Linked DNA regions of Homo sapiens: region 1 is linked to region 2. Evidence: promoter capture Hi-C in 16 types of primary human blood cells and fetal thymus (Javierre and others, 2016). All regions are on one chromosome and are shown on one strand. The core of a region is centred on a gene start or on the middle of the fragment in contact, and the rest is flanking DNA. Distances in the headings are between cores, read along the strand shown. Region 1 overlaps COPB2-DT (COPB2 divergent transcript). Region 2 holds the start of CLSTN2 (calsyntenin 2).

The links. The method cuts DNA at HindIII sites, captures the fragments that hold promoters and counts their contacts. A CHiCAGO score of 5 or more calls a contact.
Region 1: a contact is called between a fragment that was not itself captured here and the fragment with the promoter of CLSTN2 in region 2, in 2 of 17 cell types (erythroblasts and megakaryocytes). The highest score is 5.9, in erythroblasts.

Annotation. Positions count from the first base shown.
Region 1 is chr3:139,439,341-139,442,723 of GRCh38, reverse strand. All of the region lies in intron 3 of COPB2-DT (COPB2 divergent transcript), which reads right to left. Among named protein-coding and RNA genes, the nearest start is that of RBP2, 35 kb to the left of the region's middle. The HindIII fragment of the contact is 2,693 bases long and covers 756-3,383 here.
Region 2 is chr3:139,933,866-139,937,311 of GRCh38, reverse strand. It overlaps CLSTN2 (calsyntenin 2), which reads right to left and starts at 2,127. Exons shown (of 17, transcript NM_022131.3): 1 at 1,829-2,127. The coding sequence starts at 1,937. RefSeq lists silencers at 1,980-2,039, 2,080-2,129. The HindIII fragment of the contact is 3,275 bases long and covers 19-3,293 here.

The DNA.
Region 1 (3,383 bases), core at 853-3,352, 490 kb after region 2:
CACGTTCATATTTGTTATCTTATGTAATCTTTATAAGAACTAGGATGGAAAGGTAGTATCAAAATCTCAATGGCTGATGAGGAAACCAAGGCACAAAAAGGTTAATTTGATTTTCCCTGGTCTAGGTAGCTAACAACGGAGCTGGCACTTCAACACTGTTTGCCCAACCCTTGTCCCCTAGACCTTTCCCTGCTCCTTTGCGTTTCATATCTATTGCCTGAATTCCAAGCTCCCTTTTCAGAAAGACCCCACTGGTGGTCATGTGAAGGTCGAATCGTATCCCATTTGGCCTGTGTCTCAGTACCCAGGGCCCGGGATCTGTGTGCAGGGCTGGGGGGCTACGGATCCTCTCTAGGAGTCTCAGCTTTGACACTGAGTCATCTTTTGAAAGTACGTATATGATAATAAAGGTAATCATTTTTGAGTACTTACTGTGTGCCAGGCACAGAGCTAGACCCCTCCCATGCATTTGCTCATTTAGTCCTCACAATAACTCAGTGGGGTAGGTAGCATTTTTATCCCCATTTTACAGACAAGGCTCTCTGATGCTCAGAACACCCAAGGAACCTGTCCACATTTCCCAGCTGTGGAGCAGCAGAGCCTGCAATAAACACAGATTGGAAAGCCCCCCTTGCTTTAAGCAAGTGCTGGTTAATGTCCTACAATAGGACTGTTATGAGCACTACATTTCATAGTGCAGGAGAGAAGAGCATTGGCTAATGGGGCTTTCTCAGGAATTCCATGTCAGATAAGCTTTTGTTTGTTAAGCATTCACTGGATGCAGAGCCCTCTCCAGGCTCTAGGATCTGAGCTGCCACCCAAGTCAGAAGCAGAGGCCTGGTGTCCTTTGAAATCCTGATTCTACTCAGCTGCTTCTTTCTGAGCTCCAGAATGTGAAAATGATACATGTGGGAATAGTGGGCTCCACTGTATTCAGGCTTGTGTTCTCTTTATGGGTGGGCAGTGGGTGCGCATGAGGCCAGCAGGGAATGATGCCAAAGAAAACTGAGGTTCTTGTATGCCCTAGAGATGGGCTCTGGGTGGCTGAGCAGGTCAGACCATGAGAAGAGGCACTTGAAAACAAAGAAGAGGAAGAAGGATTTTTAGGTTCTGCCCCCATCGTGGCTTTCTGGATGCCAGGAGGAATTATTGGTGAGCGTCCAGCTGGACCCCAATCAGTGATGCTGCTGACTCTCTGGAACCTGCCATTTTGCTCCTATTCACTTGTCTTTCATTTTTTGCCATACATCACCCTGCTTTAAAAAGAGACCTCTAACTGACTGTACAATGACATCCCTGCTCAGGCAGTCTCCCAGCCCTGCCCTGCCTCTCCCCTGCAATATTTCCTCAGATGCAGTGGCCAAGGCAGGTCATCCTCATGCCTGAGAAATCACTGAAAGGGGAATCTGGCTGAGCCCCCAGCTCCCAACCACAACCCTTTCCCTCCCTGCTTTCAACTCTGCTAAATAAGAAAGCTGGCTCAGGCATGGTATGAAGGATACTATCTTGTCCTGCCTCTCAAAAGCAATGGGCACCACTTTACGAACCAGTTGGCATGGCGACTGAGCCAAGAGGATGCTTTCAAAATGAGCAATTTAACATAAAATGATCCTTGCATTTTTAACTGAATGTCACATTCCCGTAATTGTAGGACAGCTAATTGGGTAATTGTTCAAAATGTCTTATTTCTGTTCTCATTCCACTGAATGTGTATACATGCAAGCACACACACACACAGTCACACACACACACAGAGTCACACTCACAATGGGCCATGCTACTAATGCCATGGTTACCAATGACCAAATTCATGAAGCATTTGACCTCAATGCTGGACAATTTGGTGGCTATTGATTCATCAGCGTCATCACTACCTAACTGTGTTCAACCCGACACAGGCCCTTCTTCATTCCCCTCCTCTCATACAGAGGATGTTTGTGACTTTCAAGACGTCAAACCTGTACTCTCACACACCCACTCCAACAGAGGGGAAATCTGCCTGGTCAGGGAACTCTGACTTAAGAAAGTTATGGCATGGCTCTGCCTATGTTTTTGAATTCCGAAGCCCCAGCCTAAGCATGTGTCCAGGGTTTATTGTATATCCATCTTTTAACATTAATTCCATGAAAAGCATACGTGTTGTCATCTGAGACAAAACTGCCTGTTTATTTGTTCTGATTTAATCCTGGATTCCATGGCATACATGCTTGGTGCCTGAACTGGAACCCAGCTCTTTGAATTCACTGCTTTGGTATACTAGTTGCCACAAAATATTTTTTGTTGTAAACATTGTTTCCGAAACTCTAATCTGGTGAGCAATTCCGTTTTGCTGGGTTCCTATGTTAAACTGACTTTAGAGAGAAGGTATCCACCATACCTCAGGACAGACTGTCCCTCCAAAAAGAGCATGGAGGACTGGTTAACTCATCTTAATTATTTTTTTAAATTCAAATTGCTGCTCTGAATAAACTAGAAGTAGCCACATGTGCTCAACTTGTGTTTCAGCCTGGGGCAGCAGACTGAGTCTGCTGTTTAATTGTGCTGAAATCCAGAGATGAAAAGCTGGTAACCAAGAGTCTGTCACCCAGAGGGGGTAATGGAAACCCCACTCCATCTCAGATGACAGACACCATTCTGACCTTTTATTGCTGATTGCAAGCCTTTTGAGTATAAAGCATTCTCTTTTGTTCTGATTTTCTGACAACTGTTTAATCATGTTCTATTCATAGAAATTACAGTAAAATTCTGTTGTTTCTCATGTATCAAACAAGATAATGCACATGGAAATCAAGTTCTGGAAATGAATAATAAAATCCTAAACCTCCCAGCAGTAGTGAAATCCTGAAGTGTGCTGAAGGCGAGGTATGTAGGTACAGACTGGGAGGCATAGAAGACATTCATCCTGCCACAAACATTTCCAAATACATTTGCCCTCAAACCAAGGTCCAATCATCAATAAAATGAAAGTCCAATTTTAACAGCACAATGGAAAAACTTTGAGTAGGGAACTGACATTTATTATCTTTAATGTACATTATTTTATCCGATCCCTACAATGGCCCTATAATGTATGTTCCATTAACTCCATTTTATGGACAAGGGAACCGAGGCTAGGGATGAGAGACAATGCCCCAAGGCTGCCTGGTCAATAAGCTGCTGGGTGCTGATTCTAAAGGCCTCATTCTGATTTTCAAAACATTTCAACTGCCACAACTCCAGTGTCCCATCAGCTGCCTGCCCAGCTGGTCATAGGTCACTTCAGGCCAAGCAGCTGTTCCTGAGACAACCTGAGGGCTCATGGCTGAAGAATTGTCCTAAGGACAAGCAAAGTGGCCACTCACTAAGAAGCAAACATAACCCAGTCTCCTTTCTTCTGTGTCTTC
Region 2 (3,446 bases), core at 878-3,377:
GCTTACCTCTATGAAGCTTCCCATTCTGACCTGAGAACTCAGCCGTGCATTATTACTACTCACACCAGATCCTCTTCCCAAATGATTTCTTCCCTGTTCTGCACTTGCTGTGTGCTTCTCACCCTCCTTCAAACTCCCGTTTGCAGACATCTGCTTATATCAATTACTGTGCTACAAAGTGATGGGAAATCTCCTCCCCCCCACCCCCCAAAAAAGTAATTTGCCTGTTTAACAAAGTGTCTATATTGGGAAAGCAGGGGGGAGATGTTTGGAAGTTCATTGTTTTTTATTCTTGTCTTCACCAAAACAACAGTCTCTCAGCTTGATCCCTTCATATCAGCCACTTCTTTACCGCACTCTGAGATATTTTCATAACGAGTTTTTCTCTCATGAAATTTCTCATTTCTAAAAATAGAAACTGCCTGTCAAAGATACACCAAGAAAAAAAATGCTGAAAAGAAACAGAATGCCTGCTTATAAAATATTTTCAAAACGATGACACCAAAAAATTTAAAAATTACAGATAAACATAATCTCCCATGTTCTTCTCAAATATATCACTCCTAAGTTATTGGAGGGCCAGTTTCTAAAGCCCAGACAAGGCGAACTGCCTGCCTCCAGCTCTCCCCAACCTCCAAGAGTAATGCAGCCTGATAGGCATTTCCTCCCCTAAGCTAGTGGTCAAGTGTAGCTCAAAGCAAGCGTCCGAATCAGGCTGTCTCTAACAGGGAATCTATTTTCTGACAGGCGCAAACCCCTCCGCCCTCTGATGATTGCCAGGCAGGATTTGGGGACCAAGTACCCCTCATTGTCACCTGGCGGATTTGGCCACAGTCCACAAACCAAACGCAAGCCCTACTTATGAACAGCGCAGAGAATCAACAAGTTATCACTAAGCTGTGCGCCCCAGCTAGGATCTGCCACAGCCTCCCCTGAGCCCACCACTGTTCCCCACCAGCTCTGCTCTTCCCTCGCCTCCCCACCCCCTGCAAGCACGTGACCTCCTGTTTCAGACCCGGCCCCCCACCCCAGAGCTCCCGACGCTCCCAGGCAGCTGTCAAAGTCCGGGGTTCGCCGGCTTCCAGGCTCGCCTGACAGAGCCAGGCGTTCGCTTGGATCTAGCTTCCTTCCGGGCGGGAGGCGCGGGGAGGTCAAGCTCTTCAAAGGAACAGGGTGGGCAGGGGAGTGGTGCCAGGTTAGGCTCCTCGGTCCTCGGTAGTCAGAGCGGAGTAGGAAAGGCAGCGGGGAGCCTCACATCCCGCGCTTCTTCCGGACCCCGCCGCCTACCCGGAGGGTACACGTTCCCCGGGGAGTCAGAGACGCCCTGGGGGAGCTTGAGGAGTGTCAGCGGGGCCTTCCCTGGAGCCTACAAGTTTCCACTCCATCCCCGAGCTGGGAGACAAGTCACAGCTCGGCTCCCTCCTTGAAAGCACCGCCGCTGATCCTTCCCCCAGGCAGGAGCAGACACCTGCTTGTCCCCACGGCGCGCCAGCGCCCTGCTCTAGCCGTCCCTGGGCCAGAGCTCGAAACTCACCCACTGCGCTCCCACCCCGGCACAGACAGCCCTCAAAGTTGTCCGTACTCCCCAGACCTCGCCTTCTGCTCAGCCCCCGGACCCCGCCCAGGGGTTGAGTTGACGTCCGCGGGTGGACCTCTCTGGTCCGCTGCGCAGGGAACTGACTTCGGGAATCCAGGGCGCACAGAGGCCAAAGAAGCTGCGGCAAGGGAGGGTGGGCAAATCCAGCTTGAGCCTAGGTCCTTGCCGCTTTCACCCTCAAGCCTGCCCTGCCTCCCTCCTGGGAGAAGAGCAAACTTCCCCAGCACCCACCTTTAGCCGCGAGGAGGCGGCGCTGCCGGCTGTCCCCGCCACCGCCGCTGCCGCTCCCCACGCCCAGCGCCAGCAGGAGCGGCACCCAGCACAGCCGCCCAGGCAGCATCCTCGCAGCAGCCGCCAACGAGCTGCAGCCGCCGCCTACTGTCCGCGCCGGCTCTCGCCTCCCGGTGCCTGCCGCACCGTGGGCCGCCTCGCCGTGCCCGATGGGTGCGCTTCTAGCGCTGCCGCCGCGGCGCTCGGCCTCGGGTTCCCGCCGCTGCGCCGCTAGCTCGCCGGCAGCAGCCGCGCTCACTGGCGCGGACCCGGAGCGGCTCAGGCGCTCACCCCGGGACGGCCCGTGACGTCACGGAGGGAGGGAGGTGGCTCGTGCATATTCATGAACGCGGGCATCGGCGCCGGGTTCCGCGCTCCCCGCCCCAAGGCCCCGACCCCCAACTTTCCTCAGCCGTCTCCACGCTCCGGGGCCCTGTCCAGGTCCCCCTGCCCAGTCGGGACCGGGCCCCCAGAGGACCCTGGTGGGCGGCTCCGGAGAGCCCTCCAGCCCCGCGCCTCCACTCCGACTCTCGGAAAAGCTGCCGCAAGGGATGGAGGGCTCCCCCAGAAAGTGGCCACCCGAGGCCTGAGGGTCATCTGGGGTGGCGCGAGGGACCCTGACCTGCCATGCCCTTTGAACTGATATCTGGGCGGAGAGGACTGACGGGCGTCGCTAAGGGTCTTGCCCTTGGCTGGGTCTCTGGGCGTTCTGCGTCGACTGGTCTGGGGAGGGCGCCAGGCGCACACTAGAGCAGCGCCTAGTGGTGCTAGGGGTTGTCGGGCAGAGTAGATAGCCTTGGACCTGGATGGCAATGGCAGGGCTCCGCGTCATCTCCGAGAAGCAGGGGCAGCCGCGGCTCTTAGAGGCTGATAGAACAGCTAGATCAGAAAACTTGGGGTGCTGGGCCTGCTGAGGCTGCAGTGGCGGGGGCGGGGTGTCAAACTTAAAATTCCCTGCGGTATGGTGCCATGCAAGAAGTTGCCACCTTTATGTTGTCACTCCGCATCTCTAAGAACAGGCTACTTGACGTCATGCATTGTAAAATCTCGTGCCGTTGAGTATTGTCAGTTCCCTGAGTGCAGGAGCCAGTGCATATCTTTGCATCCTCAACCATCTCTAGGCCGTGAAAAAATTACAAAGGTACTCAAAAAAAAAAAAAAAAAAAACAGTAAGGACTCAGAATAAATCCTTGACCATATTTACCTAAATGAAATGCCAACATCACACACAATGCAGGGTTTATGAGGAATAGTTTGGAAATAAAGTAGATATGGAAATACAGAAACAAACAATATTATTTATTTAGTCATTGATTCAAGACGTTTGCTGAGCATCTAGACAGGCTGTATCACCCTGACAGTGAGCACTGGATTAGTCGTTGGAGATCCAAAGACAGAGGAGAGAGTGGGTCCTATCCTCAAAGCTTTTGTTCCCTGCTTGGGGAGCCAGAGAGGGCAGCAAAGGCAATTACAATCCCTTGTAAGTGTTATGGTCCTGCACATTCTTTATGTTGCTAGCTATGAGCCTATACAAATCAATTAACAAAATGTATATATTGCAAGAGTGCCTAAACAGCAT